Regions from separate parts of the Homo sapiens genome. Here region 2 is linked to region 1. The links are contacts of gene promoters, found by promoter capture Hi-C in blood cells and fetal thymus (Javierre and others, 2016). All regions are on one chromosome and are shown on one strand. The core of a region is centred on a gene start or on the middle of the fragment in contact, and the rest is flanking DNA. Distances in the headings are between cores, read along the strand shown. Region 1 overlaps NPHS1 (NPHS1 adhesion molecule, nephrin). Region 2 holds the start of ATP4A (ATPase H+/K+ transporting subunit alpha).

Region 1 (6,759 bases), core at 4,239-6,738:
AATGGTGTGATCTTGGCTCACTGCAACCTTCATCTCCTGGGTTCAAGCAATTCTCTTGACTCAGTCTTCTGAGTAACTGGGATTACAGGCATGTGCCACCACCCCCAGCTAATTTTGTATTCTTAATAGAGACGGGGTTTCACCATGTTGGTCAGGCTGGTCTCGAACACCTGACCTTGTGATCCACTCACCTTGGCCTCCCAAAGTGCTAGAATCATAGGCCTGAGCCACCATGCGCGGCCTTATTTTTTATTTTTGAGATGGAGTCTCACTCTGCCACCCAGGCTGGAGTGCAGTGGCATGATCTTGGCTCACTACAACCTCCGCCTCCCGGGTTCAAGCGATTCTCCTGCCTCAGCCTCCTAAGTAGCTGGGATTACAGGCAAGTGCCACCATGCCCAGCTAATTTTAGTATTTTTAGTAGAGACGGGGTTTCGCCATGTTGGCCAGGCTGGTCTTGAACTCCTGACCTCAGGTGATCCACCTGCCTTGGCCTCCCAAAATGCTGAGATTACAGGTGTGAGCCACCACGCTTGGCCACTTTTTGTTTGTTTGTTTTTGTTCTGAGACGCAGTTTTGTTCTTGTTGCCCAGGGTGGAGTGCAATGGTGCCGTCTCGGCTCACTGCAACCCCCGCCTCCTGGGTTTGAGCAATTTTCCTGCCTCAGCCTCCCAAGTAGCTGGGATTACAGGCATGCACCTGTAATTTTTTGTATTTTTTAGTAGAGACAGGGTTTCACCATGTTGTCCAGGCTGATCTCGAACTCCTGACCTCAGGTGATCCACCAGCTTCGGTCTCCCAAAGTGTTGGGATTACAGGTGTGAGCCACCACGACTGGACTAGTTTTCGTTTTTTTTTTTTTTTTTTTTTTAAGAGAATAACCTCAAATGCATATTCTAAGTTTTCATCTTAAGAAACTGTGGCTCATGCCTGTAATCCCAGCACTTTGAGAGGCCAAGGCGGGTGTATTACTTGAGGTCGGGAGTTTGAGACCAGCCTGACCAACATGGAAAAACCCTGTCTCTACTGAAAATACAAAATTAGCCGGGTGTGGTGGCACATGCCTGTAATCCCAGTTACTTGGGAGGCTGAGGCAAGAGAATCACTTGAACCTGGGAGGCAGAGGTTGCAGTGAGCAGAGATGGTGCCATTGTACTCCAGCCTGGGCAACAAGAGCAAAACTCCATCTAAAGAAAGAAAGAGAGAGAGAGAGAGAGAGAGAAAGAAAGAAGCTAATAAAAGACGAACAAATTAAACCCAAAGTAAACAGAAAGAAGAAAATAATAATGGTAAGAGCAGAAATGAATGAATTAGAAAACAGAAAAACAATTGAGAAAATCAATGAAACCAGAAGCTGGTTATTTGAAAAAAATCAATAACATTTATAAATCTGATTAAGACAAATAAAAGGGAGAAAATACAAGTTACCAATAACAGGAATGGAAGAAGGGATGTTACCACAGACTCCACAGACATTAAGAGGATAATTAGGGAATATTATGGATAACTTTATTCCAATAAATTCAGCAAGTTGGATGAGAAGGACAAATTCCTTGAATATGATGAATATGTTACAATTCTGATAGGCACAGTATTGTAGTGGTAAATCCTTCAGAGCCTGGTCCAGAGAAGCTTGGGTTCAAATCCCCTCTCTGCTACCTCTTAGTTGTGTGACCATAGGCAAGTGTCTCAGTTTCTAAAAATATATAGCACAGATCTTTGTGGCTCAGTTTATTTTTCTTTCTTTCTTTCTTTCTTTCTTTCTTTCTTTCTTTCTTTCTTTTCTTTTCTTTTCTTTCTTTTTTTTTTTTTTTGCAATGGAATCTTGCTCTGTCACTCAGGCTGGAGTACAGTGGCATGATCTCGGCTCACTGCAACCTCTGCCTCCCAGGTTCAAGCAATTCTCCTGCCTTAGCCTTCCAAGTAGCTGGGATTACAGGTGCATACCACCACGCCTGGCTAATTTTTGTATTTTTTAGTAGAGACAGGGTTTCACCATGTTGGCCAGGCTGGTCTCAAAGTCCTAACCTCAGGTGATCCACCTGCCTCAGTCTCTCAAAGTGCTGGGATTACAGACGTGTGCCACCACTCCTGGCCGCAAGCTTCTCCTTTCTGTTTTCCTCTTCCTGACAGAGCAGGCTTTTTCTCAATGGAAGTAAGGACACTTTTTCACCCCTACAATCTTCTCTGCTCTTCCCCCCACCCCACTCCAGTCTTCCCTTTGAACACTAAAACATAAAGTATGACACTTGCCTCCTTTGCTTTAGAACTTGTACCTTTATTAAGGGATCGAGAGCCCAAAGTCTTTTTTGGTTAACTCAACAAATTGATAATTCGGGTGAAAAGGACCTTGCACACCGAAAGTGCTCATCAACAGTTAATTTTTGGGCCAGGCATGGTGATGCATGCCTGTAGTCCCAGCTAATCAGGAGTCTGAGGCGGGAGGATAGCTTGAACCCAGGAGGTCGAGGCTGCAGTGAGCTATGATCATACCACTGCACTCCAGCCTGAGCGACAGAGTGAGACCCTGTCTCTTTAAAAAAAAAAAAATGGCCAGGCGCAGTGGCTCACGCCTGTAATCCCAGCACTCTGGAAGGCCGAGGTGGGCGAATCACGAGGTCAGGAGTTCGAGACTAGCCTGGCCAACATGGTGAAACCCCATCTCTACTAAAAATACAAAAAATTAGCCAGGCATAGTGGCAGGTGCCTGTAGTCCCAGCTACTTGGGAGGCTGAGGCAGGAGAATTGCTTGAACCCGGGAGGCAGAGGTTTCAGTGAGCTGAGATTGCGCCACTGCACTCCAGCCTGGGCAATAGAGAGAGGTTCAGTCTCAAAAAACAAATTATTCTTAGCATTAGCGTTACCATTAGAATTGCTATTAATAGTATTGTCATTATTATCAGCAATTTCTAGCTCTCTTTGAAATATTCTTAAGCAGTCATATACCAGTTCCCATGAATCTAATAGGCTTAAGAAGAGGCTGAGAAATATTTAAAGCTTATCTCAGATTCTTAGTGTTAAGTCACAATCTGTATATCCACCCCCCAGGTCTCCACCAGCCTTCTGGAGAACCTGAAGACCAGCTGCCCACAGAGCCACCTTCAGGCAAGTCCTCAGTCCCCTGATCCCTCCCGGCTCCCCTGAGAATGGAACCTCCTGGTCTCTGACCCTACCTCCTCTGCTTGTAGTCACAGCTGCTTAACGACTTAGTTCTGGCCAAGCTCAGTCGCTCACGCCTGTAATCCCAACACTTTGGGAGGCCAAGGCATGTGATCACTTGAGCCCAGGAGTTTGAGACCAGCTTGGGCAACATAGCAAGACTCCATCTTTGCAAAAATAAAAAATAGCTGGGTGTAGTGGCATGTGCCTGTAGTCCCAACTACTCAGAAGGCTGAGGTGGGAGGATTGCATAAGCCCAGGAGTTGGAGGATGCAGTGAGCTATGACTGAGCCACTGCACTCCAGCCTTGGCAACAGAGGGAGACCCTATCTCAAAAAAAAAAAAAAAAAAAAAAAAGACTTAGTTCTGTCCCTGCAGAATTGCAGACTTGCAGACTCCTTAGAGCTTCCTCTTTTTTCTTTCTTTCTTTCTTTTTTTTTTTTTTTTTTTTGAGACAGAGTCTCATTCTGTTGCCCAGGCTGGAGTGAAGTGGCAAAATCTTGGCTCACTGCAACCTCCACCTCCCAGGTTCAAGCGATTCTTTTGCCTTAGCCTCCCGAGTTGCTGGGATTACAGGCACCTGCCACCACACCTGGCTAATTGTTGTACTTTTTTAGTAGGGACGGGGTTTCACCATGTTGGCCAGGCTGGTCTCGAACTCCCGACCTCAAGTGATCTGCCTGCCTCAGCTTCCCAAAGTGCTGGGATAACAGGCATGAGCTACGGCACTCGGCATTTTTTTTTTTTATTTTTTTATTTTTTGAGATGGATTCTTGCTCTGTTTGTTGCCCAGGCTGGAGTGCAGTGGTGCGATCTCGGCTGACTGCTATCTCCACCTCCCGGCTTCCTCTCCTGCCTCAGCCTCCCGAGTAGCTGGGACTACAGGCACGTGCCAACACGCCCAGCTAATTTTTTGTATTTTTAGTAGAGATGAGGTTTCACCGCGTTAGCCAGGATGGTCTTTAACTCCTGACCTCATGATTCACCCACCTCAGCCTCCCAAAGTGCTGGGATTACAGGCGTGAGCCACTGCATCTGGCCAATTTTTTTTTTCTTAGATCTTCCTCTTGCCTGGAGTGATAAATTTTCTTCTCTTCCAAATTTAGTTTAATTCCGTAAGAATTAGCTCACTCCATGTCCTGTAAGAAGCCTGCATCAGTTAGCTTTTGCTGTATAATGAACCACCCCAAACATGGGTGCTTATAGCAACATTCTTCCTCATGATTCTGAGTCTGGCGGAACAGTGCTGGTCTGGGCTGGCTTAAATCATCTCTGCAGTCAGCTGGCAGCTCCACTGGACTGGGTGGTCTAGGGTTGCCCCCTTCCCACACTTCTGATAGTCATCTGGCTCTTGGTTGGAACAATGGAGATAACTGGGCGCGTGTCTCTTCTTGACTTTTTCACATGGAGGTGGTCACGGGGGTCAAAAGCAGCAATTTACTAGCTGATTCCGTCATAGTTGTGTCTCATTGGCCAAAGCAAGTCACATGGCTCAACACAGAGTCAGTGTGGAAAGGCCCCGCACTCAAGGATGTGACTACTGGGAGATGATTGCAACCATTTGGCAAAAAAATCCCCTTCAGAGCCCGAGAAAAAGGTTGCAAGTGACAGAAATGCAGCTGTTTTGTCAACACGAAAAAGAATGGCTTGGCTGGGCACAGTGGCTCATGCCTATAATCCCGGAACTTTGGGAGGCTGAGGCAGGTAGATCACTTGAGCCCAGACGTTGGAGACAAACCTGGGCAACATGGTGAAACCCCATCTCTATAAAACAAAAACAAAAAAAATTAGCCAGGCATGGCAGTGCATGCCTGCAGTCCCAGCTACTCAGGAGGCTGATGCGGGAGGATTGATTGAGCCCAGGAGGTTGAGCCTTCAATGAGCCGAGCTCACGCCACTGCACTGCAGCCTGGGCAACAGAGTTGAGACCCTGTCTCAAGAAAAAAAAGAAAAAGTCTTGGTATATGAAATAAAAAATTCCAAGTGTGGCCACTTTCAGGTGCTCAAAAATCTCACCAGCGATCTGTTTCTCACCCTCTCTCAACTTTGCCTTCATCTGTGGTGGCTTCTTTCTGAGTTTCTTCAATCAGAGGGGCAGAGAAGCCCTCCTCCACCTCCATCTTCTTGACAGCTAGTAGAATTGTCCTAAATGTTTTGTTAAAAACACACGTTGGGTCAAATGCCTGTGTCTAAACAATCACTGTGGAGAGAGGAATGGAGACTCTTATTTTCCAGGCCGGGCCATGTGCCCACTGTGGAGTCCTGCCTGAACCCAAGACTGAGATTGGGGAGTGGCTGTTCTCCCCAGGGGAAAAAAGTGCTATTAGTAGAAGACAGGGGAGATTGCCCGCCCAACAGATGCCTACTTAGAGGGGTTCAGCCTTGTCCTCAGGGATATAGCAGCCAAGTCAGCCTGATATTGGCTGGGATGGAAGTTGGTGGAAAGAAGTCATTTGAGGCTGGGCACGGTGGCTCGCGCCTATAATGCCAGCACTTTGGGACGCCAAGGTGGGCAGACCACTTGAAGCCAGGAGTTCAAGAACAGCCTGTCCAACATGGCGAAACTCCGTCTCTATTAAAAATACAAAAAAAAAAAAAATTAGCCGGGTGTGGTGGCATGCGCCTGTAATCCCAGCTACTTGGGAGGCTGAGGGAGAAGAATCGCTTGAACCCTGCAGGTGGAGGTTGCAGTGAGCCAAGATCATGCCACTGCACTCCAGCCTGGGTGAAAGAGTGAGACTCTTTTTTTTTTTTTTTTTTTTTTGAGACAGGGTCTCATTCTGTCACCCAGGCTGGAGTGCAGTAGCGTGATCTCGGCTCACTGCAACCTCTGCCTCCCCAGTTCAAGTGATTCCCCTGCCTCAGCCTCCCAAGTAACTGGGACTACAGGTGCCTGCCACCACACCCAGCTAATTTTTTGTATTTTAGTAGAGACAGGGTTTTACCATATCGGCCAGGCTGGTTTTGAACTCCTGACCTTGTGATCCAACCCCTCAGCCTCCCAGAGTGCTGGGATTATAGGCGTGAGCCACCGTGCCCAGCCAACTCCGTCTTAATTAAAAAACAAAATAAAATAAAGAAGTCCTTGAGATGGGATTTTTTTTTCAGAGGCAGGGTCTTGCTCTGCTGCCCAGGCTGGAGTGCAGTGGTGCTATCATAGCTCACTGGAGCCTTGACTTACCAGGTTCAAGCAATCCTCTTGCTTCAGTGTCCCGAGTAGCTGGGACTATAGACATGCACCACCATGCTGCTAAATTTTTAATTTTTTTTGTAAAGAATCAGCCTCACTATGTTGCCTAGGCTGGTCTTGAGCTCCTAGGCTCAAGCGATTCTCCCACCTTGACCTCCCAACATGCTGGGATTACAGGCATGTGCTGCAGCGCCTGACCTTGAGATAGAATTTGAAAGGCAAACAGAAGTTTGCTTGAGAAGAAAGGACATTTGAGGACAGACACTTAACTATTCCAAAGCTCTGAGGTGTGAATTTGCTTCAGTGATTCTGGAAACAGCTGGTGGTTGATTTGTGTGGCTGGACAGTCCAGTACCAGGGTCTAAGTTTGGTGGGCATGGCTGGAGGCGTGGGAAGAGGCTGGACCACAG
Region 2 (6,922 bases), core at 1,634-4,133, 270 kb after region 1:
AATGTCCTTATTCATAGAAGACACATGCCTAAGTATGGATAAAGGGGATCCTGTCTCCAACTTGCTTCCAAATGATTCAGCCAAAAATTTAAAAAATTCTGGCCAGGCATGGTGGCTCACACCTGTAATCCCAGCACTTTGGGAGGCCAAGGCGGGTGGATCACTTGAGACCAGGAGTTCTAGACCATCCTGGCCAACATGGTGAAACCCCGTCTCTACTAAAAATACAGAAATTAGCTGGGCATGGTGGCGGGTGCCTGTAATCCCAGCTGCTTGGGAGGCTGAGGCACAAGAATTGCTTGAATCCAGGAGACAGAGGTTGCAGTGAGCCGAGATCATGACACTGCACTACAGCCTGGGCGACAGAGAAAGACTCTGTCTCAAAAAGAAAAAAAAAAAAAATCTATCAATCATCTATCATTTATGTATCCATCTATCTGTCTAACATCTCTTATCTATCTATTTTTCTATTTTTTTTTTTTTTTTTTTTTGAGACAGAGTCTCACTCTGTCACCCAGGCTGGAGTGCAGTGGCATGATCTCGGCTCACTGCAACTTTCACCTCCCAGGTTCAAGTGATTCTCCTGCCTCGGCCTCCCTGGTAGCTGGGATTACAGGCACACACCACCACATCCAGCTAATTTTTGTATTTTTAGTAGAGACAGGGTTTCACCATGTTGACCAGGCTGGTCTCGAACTCCTGACCTCATGATCCGTCCACCTCAGCCTTCCAGAGTGCTGGGATTACAGATGTGAGTCACAGTGTCCGGCCCAGTCCTCCTTCTAATGAACACCAAACAAATAAAAAGAAAACACAGTGTCAGGTTGGAGTAGGAGGTGTAAATACAGTGGGGTAAAGGAACAGAACACAGTGTGCAGTATTACAGAATGGACTCTCTGAAGAGGTGACATTTGAGCTGAGACCTGAAAGAGGTGAGAAAGCCAGTGCAGACATCTAAGGAAGGGGGCCCAGGCAGAAGGAACTGTAAGTACCAAGGTCCTGAAGCAGGAACGACCTTGGTCTGTGCAAAGTGCAGCAGAGAGGTCAGTGCCCCTGGAAACCTAGCAGCAACAGAGGCAGGACAGGTGACCAGGGCCAGATGTTGCAGGAAGGAGTGCAGAGTTTATTCTGAGTGGGAAGGGAAGGCTTTGGAGGGTTGTAAGCAGGGGGTGACACAAGCTGTTTGACATACATGGCTCAGAGCTGATGGGAGCCCAGTGAGCGAGTAGATTCACTACAAGGACAGCATGTGGCCCCACGCCACCTCTTCTTTGGAGGTTTCTTCTAGCAGGCTGGGGATGACCAGCCGTGTGGGTGCGGGGAGGAGCTCTGGCTGCCCAACAGCTTTGAGTTTCCCAGGTGACCTGCCCCAGTAGAGAAGGACATTGCCAGGGCAGTTATCTTATCAGGCGCACGCTCACCTGCTCCTGGAGACACGCTCACCCCATAACATACCAAGGTCCCCACCATTCCACTGGCCCAGCCCCTCGCTGCTGCTGCCCATGGAGGTCCCTACCTGAGGGATGAGGAGGGAGTCCCCAGGCCTCCTGGCATCTGTCACCCAACACCAAGATCAAGCCAAGACCCTTGGACACATCCTTTCCCCATGTTGCACCTTGGTTTCCCCATCTAGGGTAGGGACGGGGAATGGTTGAGAGCTGTAAAGTCTGTAGCTGGATATGTGAGTCCCTGTGAGCCTCAGTTTCCCCCTCTGCACAACAGGAATGATAGTTCTGCCTGCACAGGGTTTTTTGCAAAGACCCGTGAGGTCACACGTGCAGAGCCTGGCATGTGTGTGGTGCTGCTGCAGTGAAGTTTGGGTTTTTCCATTGGTGGTGCCATAGAAGAGCTAGGCTCTGGGGTCAAGCCCTGGGGTCAAGCCCGGGCTGGAACCCTGTCCCTAATTCTTAGACGTTGAAATCTTCTGCAAAGTCCCTGATGGGGGCTAAGAAGAGAATATTGCTTTACAGGGCTGCTGTTAGATGCTAAGGAAACCATTTGAGTGACACACAGAGCACACCCAGCCCATAGTGAATAGTCAGAGTTCAGTAAACATTCAGCCACCATAGAGAGTGTTGTAAGCATGGCAGGGCATGGTGGCTCACGCCTGTAATCCCAGCACTTTGGGAGGCCAAGGCGGGTGGATCACCTGAGGTCAGGAGTTCGAGACCAGCCTGGCCAACCTGGTGAAACCCCGTCTCTACTAAAAGTACAAAAATTAGCTGGGTGTGGTGGCATGTGCCTGTAGTCCCAGCTACTCAAGAGGCTGAGGCAGGAGAATCACTTGAACCCGGGAGGCGGAGGTTGCAGCGAGCTGAGATTGCACCACTGCACTCCAACCTGGGTGTCAGAGTGACACTCCATCTCAAAAAAAAAAAGAAAAAAAAAAAGAGTGTGGGAGCACCCTCCTCTTCCAGTTGATCAGGCACGTGCTATTTAGACTGAAAGAGGACACTCTGCAGCCAGCTGATCTGGTTCTCACTCCATTATGTCCTAGCCTGTGATGGAGCCATAGGAGAATGACTCAACCCCTCCATGCCTCAGTTTCCCCATCTGTAAAGGGTCTTGTCCCCTCAAAGGGTTATTGGAAGGTTAAATAAGTTAGCACATGGAAGCCGTCAGCACAATGCCCAGCGCATAATGAGCACCTTATGTTTGCTCTTCTTGTTGCTGCAGCGGTTCCCAGGGGCTCCCTGATCTCAGGGCAGGTTGACATGGGGGGATCTGGGCAGGGGAGGGGGGGGCCAGCCCAGGAGGGAATGCCTGAGGTGCCCAGGCCTAGAGGTCACCCCAAGGAGCCTGTAATCAGCTGTGGTCGGGCGGTTCTGCTCCACCCCACCGCCCTCCCTGGGTATATCAGGACTGGTCCGGGCCCAGGCTCTGTTGGGTGGGAGCACAGGCACCGGGCACCATGGGGAAGGCCGTGAGTGGGGCCCAGGGGTCCGGGGTGCAGTGGGGACAGGGGTTGCAGTGGAATCTGAGTTCTCCCTCCCTCCATCCTGTCCATTCCCAGGAGAACTATGAGCTCTACTCGGTGGAGCTGGGTCCTGGCCCTGGCGGGGACATGGCTGCCAAGATGAGCAAGAAGAAGAAGGCGGGTGGCGGGGGTGGCAAGAGGAAGGAGAAGCTGGAGAACATGAAGAAGGAGATGGAGATTGTGAGCTCTGACTGGGGAGGGGCGGGAGCTGGAGGGTAGGCTGGGAACCAGGCAGTGGGCGGGGAGGGGGCCAGGAGAGCCCAGAGCAAGCACCCTGCCCCACCCCACCACACAGAACGACCACCAGCTGTCAGTGGCGGAGCTGGAACAGAAATACCAGACCAGTGCCACCAAGGTGAGCTGGAGACTGGGAGCGTACAGAAAGGGGAGGAGGAGAGAGGGAGGGAGAGGGAGATGGAAGGAGGGAGATGGAGAGAGGGAGAGAGAGGGAGAGATGAAGAGAGGAAGATATGGAGAAATAGAGAGAGGGAGGGAGGCAGAAAAGGAAAGAGGGAGGGAGGGAGAGAGGAAAGGATGGAGGGAGGGGAGGAGAGAGGGAGGGAGATGGAGAGAGGGAGAGAGAGGGAGAGGGAGAGAAGGGAGAAAGCATTAGAGAGAAAGGGTGACACACAGAGACGGAGAGAGGAGTAGCTGAAAAGAGACAGCAAGACAGAGAAGGCAGAGACAAATAAGGAGAGAGCAGCAGGAGAGAGACACATAGAAAGGGGAGCGAGGAGAGAGAGACAAAGGGAGAGATGAAGGAGGGAGGGAGAGATGGGGTGGGGGCAGGAACCAAGAGACAAAGAGATGAGAAGGAGCAGGACAGACCAAGCTGGAGAAGGGAAACTGAAGCAGGGGGCTTTCCACGGGGTGTGCATGTGGAGGAAAGCCCCCAGGACCGCCTCGCCCTGCCCCTCTGTCCCAGGGCCTCTCTGCGAGCCTGGCTGCTGAGCTGCTGCTGCGGGATGGGCCCAACGCACTGCGGCCACCACGGGGCACCCCAGAGTACGTCAAGTTCGCGAGGCAGCTGGCCGGGGGCCTGCAGTGCCTCATGTGGGTTGCCGCCGCCATCTGCCTCATCGCCTTTGCCATCCAGGCTAGTGAGGGGGACCTCACCACCGACGACAATGTGAGCCATGTTGTGGGGACAGGCTCAGGACATGGGGACCTGGGGATGGAAGACACTGAGCCTGGGACTTGGGACAAGAGGGGCAGAGAAGGATGGGGATAGACGAACACGAAAGGCAGTCTCAAGACAGGGGTCATGGAGGGTGAAGGACATTGGGATATGGATGGGGCAGACCCAAGGACACAGGACACAGGGACACTGGGGTGAATCTTGGGTATGGGGACATAGGTGGGGGCATAAAGAGTATGGCAATGTGATACGTAAGAGATGGGATTTGGAGGCCGGGCGTGTAATCCCATGCCTGTAATCCCAGCACTTTGGGAGGCCGAGGCGGGCAGATCACCTGAGGTCAGGAGTTCGAGACCAGCCTGGCCAACATGGCAAAACCCCATCTCTACTAAAATTACAAAAATTAGCCAGACATGGTGGCGGGCACCTGTAATCCCAGTTACTTGGGAGGCTGAGGCAGGAGAATCATTTGAACCCAGGAGGTGGATGTTGCAGTGAGCCAAGACCATGCCACTGCACTCCAGCCTGGGCGACAGAGCGAGACTGCATCTTAAAAAAAAAAAAAAAAAAAAAAAAAAGAGATGGGACTTGGAAGCAGAGGACATGCAGTGCAGACACAGGACAGACTGAGGCACGGGGAATAGGAGACCCTGGGACTCAGACATAGGACACCAGGGCAGGGACCCAAGCCTCAGGACACAGCACATAGAGAGACACAAAACATGAGACATAGAAGCACAGAGACAGAGAGGAAATGGAGGTGCAGGGCAAGGGACATTGGACATATGGCAGAGATGAGGGCAAGGGACATGGGGACTCAGGGACATGTGACATGGGACAGAGGCTCGAAAAGTCATGGCCATGGGACACAGGATGGGAACTCGGAGATACACAGACATGGGAGACACGGGACACAGTGACTGGGGAGCTAGAACATGGGGGCCGTGGCCACAGAGGACACAGACCATGACGTACAAGGTCTGCAGCACACGCAGGGACGGGGATGTGAGGATGCAGGGACAAGGGGGCCCAGGGGACACACAGAGGGTGGCAGCAGATTATGGAAAACCCAGGATGTGAAACTGGAGACACGGGGAATACAGGCCATGGGGACAGGAGGAGACATGGGACAGTGGACATGGGGAATGCAAGGCTTGGGGACACAGGAGAAGGGAACACGTCAGACCAAGGCACACAGTGATTTGGGGCACAAGTCACAGATATGGGGACATGGAAGATTGAGGATTCAGGGCCAGAGGATATGAAATATACACAGAAACACAAGACACTGAGAAGACAGAGCAGGCGAGTGTGGGACATGAGGGACATGGGAGGGGGCTAAAGGCTACAGGGAATGGTGCATGGAGCTTCCTAGTAGGTGGGGAAAAGCATGGGGAAAACCAAGAAAACCAGGGCACCAGGGAGCAGGTCGGTGGCCTCAGGCAGGCAGCTTCCGGCCCCTCTGAATAACCCCACCCCTTCCCTGTCCCCAGCTGTACCTGGCAATCGCTCTCATTGCTGTGGTTGTCGTCACCGGCTGCTTTGGCTACTACCAGGAATTCAAGAGCACCAACATCATCGCCAGCTTTAAGAACCTTGTGCCACAGGTGGGTTCCCCAGCACCCAGCCACTCCAGATCCCAGAGACTCCAAACTGCTCCTGTAGCCTCCTTCCATCAGGCCCCTGTCCCTCATCTGTGGCCTCCATCTCTCCCCATGGGTCCCAGCTCTCCTCATCCTTTACCTCCCCACATGCAGCAGCTCCCACCCCCACCCCCGTCCACCTCAACTTTGGTGCCCCTGCCCCGCAGCAAGCCACTGTCATCCGCGATGGAGACAAATTCCAGATCAACGCTGACCAACTGGTGGTGGGCGACCTGGTGGAGATGAAAGGTGGGGACAGAGTGCCCGCCGACATCCGCATCCTGGCGGCCCAGGGCTGCAAGGTGGACAACTCCTCGCTGACAGGGGAGTCTGAGCCACAGACCCGCTCACCCGAGTGCACGCACGAGAGCCCTCTGGAGACCCGCAACATCGCCTTCTTCTCCACCATGTGCCTTGAGGGTCTGTGAAGCCCCCGCCTGCCTGCCCAGTAACTGCTGCCTCCACTGGCCTCTCTCCTGCTATCTTCTAGGACAGGGGGCTTCAGCCTCCCTGTCTCTCTCCTGCATGACTGCCACCTCCCCGTGACTGCCACCTCCCCAGGGCACACTGCTTCTCTGTCTCCCACTGTCACTACCCTCTCCCAGGTCACATCCTCCACTGGCAGTGACTGGCTGTCCTTCAGCTCACACGGCAGTGCACACCCCACTGCCGCCCCCTATCCCTGAGTCGCGCCTTGGCCCCCCTGCAGGCACCGTGCAGGGCCTGGTGGTGAACACGGGCGACCGCACCATCATTGGGCGCATCGCATCGCTGGCGTCGGGGGTGGAAAACGAGAAGACACCCATCGCTATCGAGATCGAGCATTTTGTGGACATCATCGCGGGCCTGGCCATTCTCTTCGGTGCCACATTTTTTATTGTGGCCATGTGCATTGGCTACACCTTCCTGCGGGCCATGGTCTTCTTCATGGCCATCGTGGTGGCCTATGTGCCTGAGGGGCTGCTGGCCACTGTCACAGTGAGTGGGGGCAGGCGGGGATGCAGGGAGCTGAGGGGCCTGCTCAACCATCTGTTCTTTCCTCCACATTTCCCCCATCACCTCCCTGCCTGTCTATCTGTCCACTTAGCTCCCATCCATTCTCCTGCCTTCCCATCATCCACTCATTCAGCAAGTCCTTCCCGAGGCAACCCTGGGGCAAGTCCT

What was found. Contacts are between HindIII fragments. The CHiCAGO score rates a contact against its expected background, and 5 or more counts as called.
Region 2: the fragment with the promoter of ATP4A here is called in contact with a fragment that was not itself captured in region 1 in 5 of 17 cell types (M2 macrophages, M1 macrophages, neutrophils and 2 more); the score reaches 7.6 in M2 macrophages.

The regions. Positions count from the first base shown.
Region 1 is chr19:35,832,051-35,838,809 of GRCh38, reverse strand. It overlaps NPHS1 (NPHS1 adhesion molecule, nephrin), which reads left to right. Exons shown (of 29, transcript NM_004646.4): 23 at 3,049-3,105. Among named protein-coding and RNA genes, the nearest start is that of NPHS1, 17 kb to the left of the region's middle. The HindIII fragment of the contact is 4,977 bases long and covers 3,000-6,759 here.
Region 2 is chr19:35,559,619-35,566,540 of GRCh38, reverse strand. It overlaps ATP4A (ATPase H+/K+ transporting subunit alpha), which reads left to right and starts at 2,883. Exons shown (of 22, transcript NM_000704.3): 1 at 2,883-2,923; 2 at 3,014-3,157; 3 at 3,273-3,332; 4 at 3,903-4,106; 5 at 5,609-5,722; 6 at 5,926-6,178; 7 at 6,468-6,736. The coding sequence starts at 2,912. RefSeq lists an enhancer at 1,227-1,728. The HindIII fragment of the contact is 9,853 bases long and covers 1-6,922 here.